4 separate regions of the Homo sapiens genome follow, and regions 2, 3 and 4 are each linked to region 1. The links are contacts of gene promoters, found by promoter capture Hi-C in blood cells and fetal thymus (Javierre and others, 2016). All regions are on one chromosome and are shown on one strand. The core of a region is centred on a gene start or on the middle of the fragment in contact, and the rest is flanking DNA. Distances in the headings are between cores, read along the strand shown.

Evidence for each region. The method cuts DNA at HindIII sites, captures the fragments that hold promoters and counts their contacts. A CHiCAGO score of 5 or more calls a contact.
Region 2: the fragment with the promoter of SSTR3 here is called in contact with the fragment with the promoter of ELFN2 in region 1 in 14 of 17 cell types (neutrophils, monocytes, total CD8 T cells and 11 more); the score reaches 18.7 in neutrophils.
Region 3: a fragment that was not itself captured here is called in contact with the fragment with the promoter of ELFN2 in region 1 in 4 of 17 cell types (naive CD4 T cells, total CD8 T cells, fetal thymus and 1 more); the score reaches 6.4 in naive CD4 T cells.
Region 4: a contact is called between a fragment that was not itself captured here and the fragment with the promoter of ELFN2 in region 1, in 9 of 17 cell types (naive CD4 T cells, endothelial precursors, non-activated CD4 T cells and 6 more). The highest score is 9.6, in naive CD4 T cells.

What each region holds. Positions count from the first base shown.
Region 1 is chr22:37,426,185-37,428,768 of GRCh38, reverse strand. ELFN2 (extracellular leucine rich repeat and fibronectin type III domain containing 2) reads left to right here and starts at 1,290. Exons shown (of 3, transcript NM_052906.5): 1 at 1,290-1,471. The HindIII fragment of the contact is 18,273 bases long and covers 1-2,584 here.
Region 2 is chr22:37,211,200-37,213,783 of GRCh38, reverse strand. It overlaps SSTR3 (somatostatin receptor 3), which reads left to right and starts at 1,307. Exons shown (of 2, transcript NM_001051.5): 1 at 1,307-1,959. RefSeq lists an enhancer at 1,489-2,468. The HindIII fragment of the contact is 10,151 bases long and covers 1-1,665 here.
Region 3 is chr22:37,248,926-37,251,509 of GRCh38, reverse strand. No RefSeq gene overlaps it. Among named protein-coding and RNA genes, the nearest start is that of RAC2, 5.9 kb to the right of the region's middle. The HindIII fragment of the contact is 4,143 bases long and covers 1-2,584 here.
Region 4 is chr22:37,278,374-37,280,957 of GRCh38, reverse strand. No RefSeq gene overlaps it. Among named protein-coding and RNA genes, the nearest start is that of CYTH4, 2.8 kb to the left of the region's middle. The HindIII fragment of the contact is 2,466 bases long and covers 60-2,525 here.

The sequences.
Region 1 (2,584 bases), core at 41-2,540:
TTCCCTGTACACACATACAAAGCTGTTTCATGCCTCTGTGCCTCTTTGCACATGCTGTTCCCAGAGTCCAGGACACCCTTCTCCTCCTTCTTTAGCTGGCCAACTCCTACTCATCCATCAAGATTCAGCTCAGGCAGTGGCTTCTTCTGGGGAGTCTCCTTATTCCAGACCTGCATGAGATGTCCCGACGGGGAGTTCCCGCAGCCTGGACTTCATCTGCTGTGCAACACCTGAGAACAGGCGCTGGTGCATGCGGTCCTATAAAAGTGATGGAGAAGTACAGGGCCTGCTGGCAGCAGGCCTCCGACATGCAGCTCGCAGGGCCTCGGGAGGAGGTGCTTGCATGCCCAAGCACCAAGTTATAGGCCCCGGGTGCCAGGCTTCTTGCATCTTCCACCTCCTCCTCCTCCTCCCAGCATCCACCCCTTTGCAGGTGGCAGCAGGTGGCAGGGGCTTTGGCGTAAGGGGCGGGGAACTGGGCCTCTGGAAGGCTAATGAAGGTTCTCTAGCTACAGATGAGCCCAGTATCCCTTGGACCTACTCCTGGAGGGGTGGGGAAAGGCAGTGAGTGCCCTGGCACAAGGTAGGGGAGCGTAAAGTCTAATACTGTCTGTAGGCTCCCTGTGTAACCTTGGGGGAATCACTCCTCTCCGAACCTCAGTTGTCTGGCCTGTAAAATGGGAACGCAGCAGCCGCACTTCCCCAGTCGCCAGCGGTTGAACGCGGGACCAACCAGCAGGGCGCAGGCGGCAGGGCATGGAGGTACAAGGCGGAGAGGGGGCCCATCAGCGGAGGCGGAGTCCAGGGGGAGGGCGAGTCCAGGCGCACTTCGGGCGGCCCCGCCGCAAGTTTGCCCCCAGCTGTTGAATGCGCTGGCGGAGGCCGGACCCGGACCCGGACCCGGATCCCGCGGGGTGAGCAGCGCAGGGGGCCGCGGCCGGGACAGGGGTCCGCCAGGCCGGGGCTCGGGTCCGTGGGGCCGCCTTCGCCTCCCCGGGCGCTGCAGCTGCAGCGGCGGCGCCAGGCGCGGCCCCAGCCCCGCGGGCGTGTGTCTGCGAGCGCGCGTGTGTCCGTGGAGCGTGCGGCCGGCTCGGGGGCGGGAGCGGGCTTGCTGCGGAAAGGCCTGCGGAGGGCACCGGGAGCGGGCGGGCTGGCGGACGGACAGACGGGGACGGACAGACGGACACAGCCTGCCGCGGTCCCTGACGCGCGCCGCTTGGCCCCTCCCGGGCGCCCTCCCCGCCGAGGCAGGGGCAGAGGCGCGGCGGCGGGGAGGAGGGGGCGGCGGCGTCTGCGCGCACACGCGCGCTCCCAGACACACACACAGACACACGCGGGCCACCCCACGGCCACGCACCCCGCACCCACACCCGCGCTCACACTCACATTCACACTCACACTCACACGCGCAGGCCCCGCGGCCGCCGCTTCCCGGAGGCGGTGCTTGGCCCGGATCCCGGCTGGGGCTGGGGTAAGTGAATTCCTCTGGATCCGAGCGCCGCGACCGACCGACCGGGGAGACGGTGGGAGTCGGGGCTGGAGCCGGAGGGCACCCCCTCCGTCAGTGGGGGTGGGGCTTGGAGAGGGACACGGAAGGGGGGATGAGACGGGGAGAGCCACCCCCAGTGTCTCCTGGGTCTGGGGATCCCCGTGAGACCCCCGGGGGACCACCCTGCGCGAGGGAGGTGGTGGTGGTGGCGGTGGGCGGAGGCGGTGGGAGGACACCGAGGACGGTCGGTGAGGTGAGCGTTTCTGGGGGTGGTGCAGAGGCTCGATGGTGGACGGTGTGCCAGCCGGTGCCACACTGCACCTCTCTGCCCTCATCTTTTCGAATCGGGGGCCCTAACCCCTCTCTTTCACGGGGTGCTGCCGGGTCAAGGCATTCATCCTCTAGCTGGTAAGAGGGGTTGACGGGGTGGATGCCTTCTAGGGGAAGGGGGGCCAGGGTGGGGCTTGACGGCGGTGGGGTTGGTAAGACCAGAATTGGGGGGTGGGGACCCTTTCAGAGGCGCTGGCCAGGGACAAGGAGGGAGGCAGCCCAGGGAGGCGGCATAAATCGCAGACACTGCAGCTCTGGCAGGGCCGGGGCCACTGCCGGGTGTGTGTGTGTGTGTGTGTTTGTGTGTGTGTGCGAGCGCGTGCCAGTGTGTGTGTGTGCGTGCGTGTGTGGGCTCCAGCAGCTGTCAGGGGACGGGGAGGGGGTGGGTGTGTTGGCTGGTGGGGCGCCGTGTGCATGTGGAGAGGATTGTGCGTGCTGTGTGTGTGTGGTGTGTGCGTGTGTGTGTGGACATGGGGTGGACCCTGCTCTCTGTCTGTATACACACAAGCGCACACACGCACACTGTCAGTGGCCTGGCAGGATTTCCTCGGAATGTTTGGAGGGAAGGGAGCTGATGTGTGTGTGTGTGTGTGCGCGCGCGCGCGTGTGCATGCACACTCGGGGAGCTTGTGTCCAAAACAGAGGCCACAGGCCATGGTGTGTCAGGCGTGCCCAAGGAGGGAGACGAGAAGGGGACAGTGGTGCTGACCGTGCACTCAGCTGGGGAGGAACGTGGTACTCGGCACTTTCTGCAGCTCAGGGCTC
Region 2 (2,584 bases), core at 58-2,557, 220 kb after region 1:
GAGAGCTTTATTCTGAGGGCAGTGAGAAGCCGTGGGTAGGGGTGGGTGGTCAGTGCCATGGAAAACCCACCCTTGACCCTGAGGACACGCTCCCAGGAGCCCACCCACACCTCATGAACTTGTACGGACAAGGACAATGGGAGGCTGAGACCTGGAGCAAGGGCCTTGTCCCGGGCACAAGGCAAAGGGACGGGCAGCGTTAAGAGACCAGGCCGGCTCCGGCTGGAAGTGGGTGTGTCCTACTGTGTGCTGCCGCATGCATGGTGGCACCTCTGGATGCATTCAACTTCCAGTTCTCTGCAGTGCCAGGTACCTAGTGACAAAGGAGGTCCAGCCCTGGTCCCAGGGAATGGCCCAGTTTGGAAAGCAGCCTAGGTACAGCCTGGCACATAGTAGGTGCTCAGCCAAGACGTGTGTCCTTTTCCCTTCCGTCTCTGACTGTTCCTTTCCTTATCACTCCTGTGCTGAGGCAGGAATCAGCACAGGCAGGGGCACGGCATCCCAAGACATCTGGGCCTGTGCTCAGGACTGTACGGCAGAGTCTCTTAGACCAAAGATCAGTAAATATGGCCCACGGGGCAAATCCCACCCACTGCCTGTTTTTGTACAGCCTAGGAGCTGAGAATGGTTTTTACGGATGAACATTTGCAATCGGTTTGATGAAACACTAACTCTAAACTCCAATTAAGCAAAAGGTGATGTCTGTAAAAAGAACTCTATTCTTCTCATGAGTGGACCTACATTACAAAATACTGGCCTCAATTATTATTATTCTATTTTGAGTTTTGTCAGTTACAAAATAGTAAAAATCTGTTTTCTCACTGCACAATGATTTTGCCCTCAAAGCCTAAAATATTGGTTCTCTGTTCTGTCCTTCCACTCCTCACCCTGCCTGGGGCTCTCCAGATGTAACCAATCCCAGGACTAATGACCCCCACCCGGCCTCCCCAGTGGTCCGTGCTGCGGCCGGTGTGCCCGACTGCAGGGCTGGACTGTGGACTCCCGGGCTGGCCAGCCCCACACCCAGCCTTGCCTTGGGACACAGCTGCTGCCCCGGGGGACCTGTGCCGCAGTGGCCTCACGAGCTGCTCTGGCTACTGGCTGGCAGCCTCGGCTCCCCTGAGCACTGAGCACATTCTTCTCTCCAACTCCCTGCAGGAGCCAAGGCCAGCGGGCGTGGGTGGCTGAAATCTCCCCGGTAACAGGGTCTGCGCCCCTCCTGCTCCCTCTCCGGGCCTCCTCCCTTAACCTGCACCCCGCCCCCACCCCCCACACCTGCTCTCCGGCCCTCAGCCCCTCCCTGCTTACTCCCTCCTTCACGGGCTCCATGTCACCATCTGTGGCACAGTCCCTCTCTGTCACTCTCCCTGCCACCCCCTCATTCTCCTTCCTCCCTCCTGCCTCTCTCTGCATCTCTCCCTCTCACCCGTGTCTCCTCTCCTCTCTTTCCTTCTCGTCTTCTCCCTGTCACGCATCTCTCATCACTCCCCCTCATTCTGCCTTTCCTCCTACTCACGGTCTCCTCTCCCTCTCCCTCTCTCTCTCTCCCCCTCCCTCTTTCTCTCTCTCTCTCTTTCTCCACCTCCTCCCGACCCCCTTTCCCCTCTATTTCTATTGGCTTCTGTGTCCCTTGCTCCCCTCTTCTCTTCCTCACCCTGGGAAGCTTCTCCCCCCTATCCTTGCCCCTGCCCCCCCAGGATGTGTCCTGGAGATGGGGGGTGACGTACCAGGCTCTGGTTGGGAAGTCAGGGCCGGAGACCAGATGGGAGAGGCTCTGTGGACAGCCGTGGCCGAGGGCCTGGGAGGGAACCTGAGCCCGCAAGCGGTCTAGAAGTGGGTGCCTTGTGGGGACCCTAGTTAGGAGTGCCCTGGGGGCACCTGGGGACTGGGCAGGGAGAGGGGACAGCAGAATGATAACCAGCCTGGCGGCAAGGAGGGAAGCCCTCACCCCATGGGCAGGTAAGGAGGCTGGGGCCCGGATGATGTCCCGAAGGGTGGGGTCCTGGAAGCCCATCCTCTGCCCAGGATGAACTTGGGAGGCTGGGGCTGGGGAGGCAGAGGGTGGGGACTCCCAGGGAGGCAGGAGGGAGGCCTTCCTGTGACCTCCCGGTCGGCTGCAGGGGCAGGGGCGTTAGTCTCAGAATCTCGTGCCATGATTCTAGGATCTCGGAATCACAGAATCGCAGGCTGTCAGGGCTGGAGGGAGCCAGATGTATCATGTCGTTGGCTTCCCCAGCTCACGTGGCAGCTCTCCTGAGCTCCCCCTCCATACCCGGCACTGTGCTTGGCACGCCTCCGTTTAATCTCTGCAAACAACCCTGGGAGGTGGGTCCGCTTGTCTTCCATATGACGAAACTGAGGTGCAGCGGGGAGAAGTGACTTGCCCGAGGTCACACAGCAATTTGGCATCATCGCTGTGCAGCAGAGCCCAAGCCCCCAGCGCTGGGCCTGTAGGGTGTGCTCCTGGGATCAGGCCCCAGGCCTGGGGTGCCAGTGAGTCAGTCGGCACTGGCAAGCATAAGCCAGGTGTCTTTGGGGGGAAGGCCGAAGCATGTAGAGGACAAGCAGAGAGCCAGGGGCCATC
Region 3 (2,584 bases), core at 39-2,538, 180 kb after region 1:
CACGAGGCCCCCCCAGAAGCAGATGCCACCATGCTTCCTGTGCGGCCTGTGATACTGTGAGCCAGTTCAACCTCTTTTTCTTAGTAAATTACCCATTCCCAGATATTTCTTTATAGCAGTGGAACTGTGAGATGCGAGATGGCTTGACCACAGCTTACTGGGCAAAAAGCAGGCAGAGCTACTCAATAAATGGTTCTGGAACAATCAGTCATGGAGATAATGATGTTAAATACATATCACACAGGCCAGGTGCGGTGGCTCACGCCTGTAATCCCAGCACTCTGGGAGGCCGAGGCGGGCAGATCACCAGAGGTTGGGAGTTCGAGATCAGCCTGGCTAACATGGTGAAGCCCCATCTCTACTAAATATACAAAATTAGCTGGGTGTGGTGGTGCGTGCCTGTAATCCCAGCTACTTGGGAGGCTGAGGCAGGAGAACCGCTTGAGCCCCGTAGGCAGAGGTTGCAGTGAGCTGGGATCATGCCACTGCACTCCAGCCTGGGTGACAGAGTGAGACTCAGTCTCCAAAAATAAAATAAAATACAATAATAAAAAAATACATATCACACAAAAACTAAAAACAGTCAATAATCTCACCACACCCTAAATTCCGTCTGAAGTGTGTAAAGACCTACTCATATTTATTTTCTTTTTTCTTTCTTGAGACAGGGTCTCACTCTGTTGCCCAGGCTGGAGTACAGTGGTATGATCATGGCTCACTGCAGCCTCGACCTCCCAGGCTCAAGCGACCTGCCCACCTTAGCCTCCTGAGTAGCTAGGACTACAGGCATGCACCAACACATCTGGCTAATTTTTGTATTTTTTGTAGAGATGGGGTTTCACCATATTACCCAAGATGGTTTCAAACTCCTGGGCTCAAGTGATCTATGTGCCTTCATCTCCCAAAGTGCTGGGATTGCAGGCATGAGCCACTGCACCTGACAAGACCTGTTTATGAAAAGCAAAACTTTAAAAGAAAATGAGGATATTCGTCTTCATGAAATTGGGGGAAGGAAAGGAATTTTTAAGTAAGATTCACTCCAAAAAACACAAGTCATTATGATGCAGGGCAGGTGAGCCTCCAAATTGGGGCTTAGCTTTGGAAGGTTCTTGGGTTCTCTCAGGAAGGAATTCCGTGCTGAGCTGACGGTGGAAGAAAACAGCTTTATGGAGGTGGCAGTGTTACAGCTGCGCGAGTGCCCCTGCAGAGTAGGGCTACCTGACGGGCAGTGTACTGAGAGCAGCAGCTCAGGGGCAGTTCCACCGTCATATTTATACCCACTTTTAGTCACATGCAAATTAAGGGGTGGGGTATTTAGAACTTTCTAGAAAAAGGGTGGTAGTTTCCGGGCTGTTGCTATGGAAAGGGGTGGTAACGTCCGGGTGTTGCCATGGCAATGGTAAACTGACATGGCGCTGCTGGGCATGTCTCATGAAGAGGTGCTTTCGCCTCGTCCCCATTTCTGCTAGTCCTCAGTCTGGTCTTGAGTCAAACCCTGCCTCCTACCTCAATTAGGAGAGAAAGTGGAAATTTGACTACATGCAGATAAAAATTGTGTCTATTAAATGTCACAACATATTAAAAGACATCCCACGGACTGGAAGAAAGTATGAAATGCCTCTAGCAATTCAAATGAAAATCAGAATATGCAAAGAGCTTCTCCAAATAAATGTAAGAGAAGGATAAATACTGGGCCTGGCACAGTGGCTCACGCCTGTAATCCCAGCACTACCTGGGAGGCAGAAGTGGGTGGATCACCTGAGGTCAGGAGTTTGAGACCAGCCTGGCCAACATGGTGAAACCCCATCTCTACTAAAAATACAAAAATTAGCCGGGCATGGTGGCGTGTATCTTTAATCATCGCTACTCAAGAGGCTGAGGCAGAAGAATCGCTTGAACCTGGGAGGCGGAGGTTGCAGTGAGCCGAGATCACGACATTGCACTCCAGCCTGGGCAACAAGAGTGAAACTCCATCTCAAAAAATAAAATAATAAAATAAAATAAATAAAATAAAATAGATAAATGCTCCAATAGAGAAATGGAGAAAAGTGAAGAAAAAGCAATTTATGGAACAGGAAACACAAGGTCCAGTAATCACTTACAATGATGCTTAATACCACTGGGAATCAGTTAATATAAATTAAAACCTCAGTGAGATGCCAATTCACACCCATCTAGCTGGCAAAAGTATGAAGTCTTACAGGCCAAGCATGGGCTGGGAGTAGACGAGGAGGCCCCTGGAGATGGGCGTAGCACTGTCCGTTGAAGTGCAAGATATGTGTGTGTATGCTAAACCTCACACACCAGCCCAGGAGCACATGGATGTTCACAGCAGAATCGTTTGTAGTGCAAACATTGCAAGCCACTTACAAATCCTGGCCCGGGAGATGTAGGCTGCAGTGAGCCATGATTGCACTCCAGCCTGGGCAACAGAGTGAGACCCTGTCTCAAAAAAGGAAAAACGAAATAAATATGAGTAGGTCTTTACACACTTTGGACAGAATTTAGGGTGTGGCGATATATTGACTGTTTTTAGTTTTTGTGTGATATGTATTTAATGTCATTATCTGCATGAATTGGATAA
Region 4 (2,584 bases), core at 43-2,542, 150 kb after region 1:
ATACATTTTTGTGGTTTAAGCCACCAACTTCTGGGATGCTTTGTTATGCAGCCAAAGCTTGCTGATACAGAAGAAATCCAATGCTGTCATTTCCTCGGAGAGAAAACTGAGGCTTATTTCTGGGAAACACTTGACCAAGTTGGAACTTGAGTGAGTGCCAATTCAGGCCCAGAAGCCAGGCCTACTAAGTCCCCGTCTAGTGTGCTCAGGATTTTTGAACCCCGCTGCTTCTCCCCTGCCCTGCCTCCACCTGGGTTCTTGTATAACTCATGGTTCTTTTCTGGAAAACTTGTTACAATTATTTCCATGGTAAACTAGATTTTTCTCAACTGCTTTGGGCCTGAGGCACCACAAACCATGCCCTTGGCCATTTTAAAACTAGAAATGTGGGCTGGGCATAGTGGCTCATGCCTGTAATCCCAGCACTTTGGGAGGCCGAGGCGGGTGGATCACAAGGTCAGGAGATCAAGACCATCCTGGCCAACGTGGTGAAACCCCGTCTATACTAAAAATACAAAAATTAGCTGGGCATGGTGGCGGGTGCCTATAATGCCAGCTACTTGGGAGGCTGAAGCGGGAGAATCACTTGAACCAGAGAGTCGGAGGTTGCAGTGAGCTGAGATCGCGCCACTGCACTCCAGCCTGGCAACAGAGTGAGACTCCGTCTCCAAAAACAAAACAAAAGAAAAAACAAAACAAACAAAATAACCCCTAGAAATATGGAGAAAGGTATATATAATTCCCTGTGCAGAAAGACTTCACACTGCAGGCCGGAGACTGCTATCTTTAGAAAGTCATGCTTGCAAAGTTGACCCTTGGCTGGCACCTGGGAGCTTGGATTTGGGGAGGGCTCCCACCACCCTAACTGATGAGAGTGGCTTACTGGGCCTAACCTATTTGCCTAGCGTCCCTGGCAGCATCCCATCTCACAGGTGCTTTCACGACTTGTTGCTGGAGGAATTGAGCGTGTCCCGTGTGACTCTTTTGGGAGCAGACTCTTGGAAGCTGCCCCTGGTTTCCTCTGGACTTCGCCACGGCGCCTTTGCGGATTCTGCTTTGAGTCCTTTCACTGCCATAGATCATAGCCGTAAGTATGACCATGAGCTGAGTCCTGGGAGTCCACCTAGTAAACCACTGAACCTGGGATGGCCTTGGGGAAGGCTGCCTGATCTTGCGGCTGATCCAGTAAATGTGTCTTGACCAGGCCACGGTTTGGCATCTGACACTTCCCTTTTGTCTGATGGATGGTCACGGTTGTGTGGTTCAGCTATTGTTACTGTCTTATTCTCTAAGACATACCTCAAATACCACCTCCTCTGTGAGGTCCGTTGTGATGACACCTCCCCTCCCTCTTTCCCACAACGCTGGTCATGTTTAACGGCTTATATGCAGACAGCCTGGGAGGGAGGGACTCTTTCACTGTGAGCAGCAAAGAGTTTAGCAGAACTGACTTCATCATTTTCTCCGTCACTCCTTGTCCAGGTTTGGCTGCAAGATTTGCTGGGAACCAATAGCACAGGCAATGAGGAGAGCAGGAAGCTGGACCCAGGGGAGTCACAGAGAACTGGATTTGAATCCTGACTCAGCTCTTGTGAGCTGTGTGATCTTCTTCCTTCCCCTCCGAGCCTCATTTTTAATCATTTAAAATCATCTACAAAATGGAGACAGTTCAGGTTAGGTTTGCCTACATGAAACAGAAAACCCAAATAATAATAATGGTTTAAAGAAACTAGAGGTTTATTGATCTCTTACAAGAAAGAAACCTGAAGTGGGCAACACATGGCTGCCCTGTAGCAGCCTGGGCATGGATCCAGGATCCTTCTAACTTTCGGCTGCTGTCCTCAAATTCTCTTCATGGTCCAAAGTGGCTGCTTGATCTCCAGCTATCATGTCTAAATTCCAGGTAGGAGGAAGGATGAAAACGGGAAGGAATCCCCTTAAAACTTTCTGGCCTGAGATCAGTCCTTCTGCGCTACATCAGGCTCTGGTTCCCACCTGTGTACCAGGCAGGGGATCCGCAGTTGGTTCTGGGACAACAAATGAGAGTCTCCAAACACGAGATCTGGGAGGTCCTAAAAAAACCATCACTGCTATTTCTGGAGTGCCTGCTATGGAGTGCCAGACACTGTGCTAAGTGCTTGTCATCTCATTTAACCCTTTCCACCATTCAACAAATTACATTATTACAACCCCTCTTTCATAGATGAGGGAACTGAGTTCAGAGAGGTTAAATCACTTGCCCAAGGTCACGCAGCCAGGAGAAAGCAAAGTTCAGATTCAAGCCCTGAACTGTCTGACTTCAGATCCCCACACTCAGCTTGTACAAGCGTCACTTTAAACATTTCAGAAGTTCACCGACCTGCCCTCCCCACTCCCTGCACTTCCTTTGAGGGAGAGATAGGAAGGGTCTAGCATCTGAATCAAATAATAGCAAAACCATCTGGGTAACATCTTCTGTTTGTCCAAAAGCTCAGAATTCCTCACGTGATGCCAATGGCCCAAGGGCGAGAGAGATGGAAGAAGCTTAGAGGAGGTCTGATTCCATGGCCTCATCTTACAGATGGGAAACGGAGGCTGGGAGAGG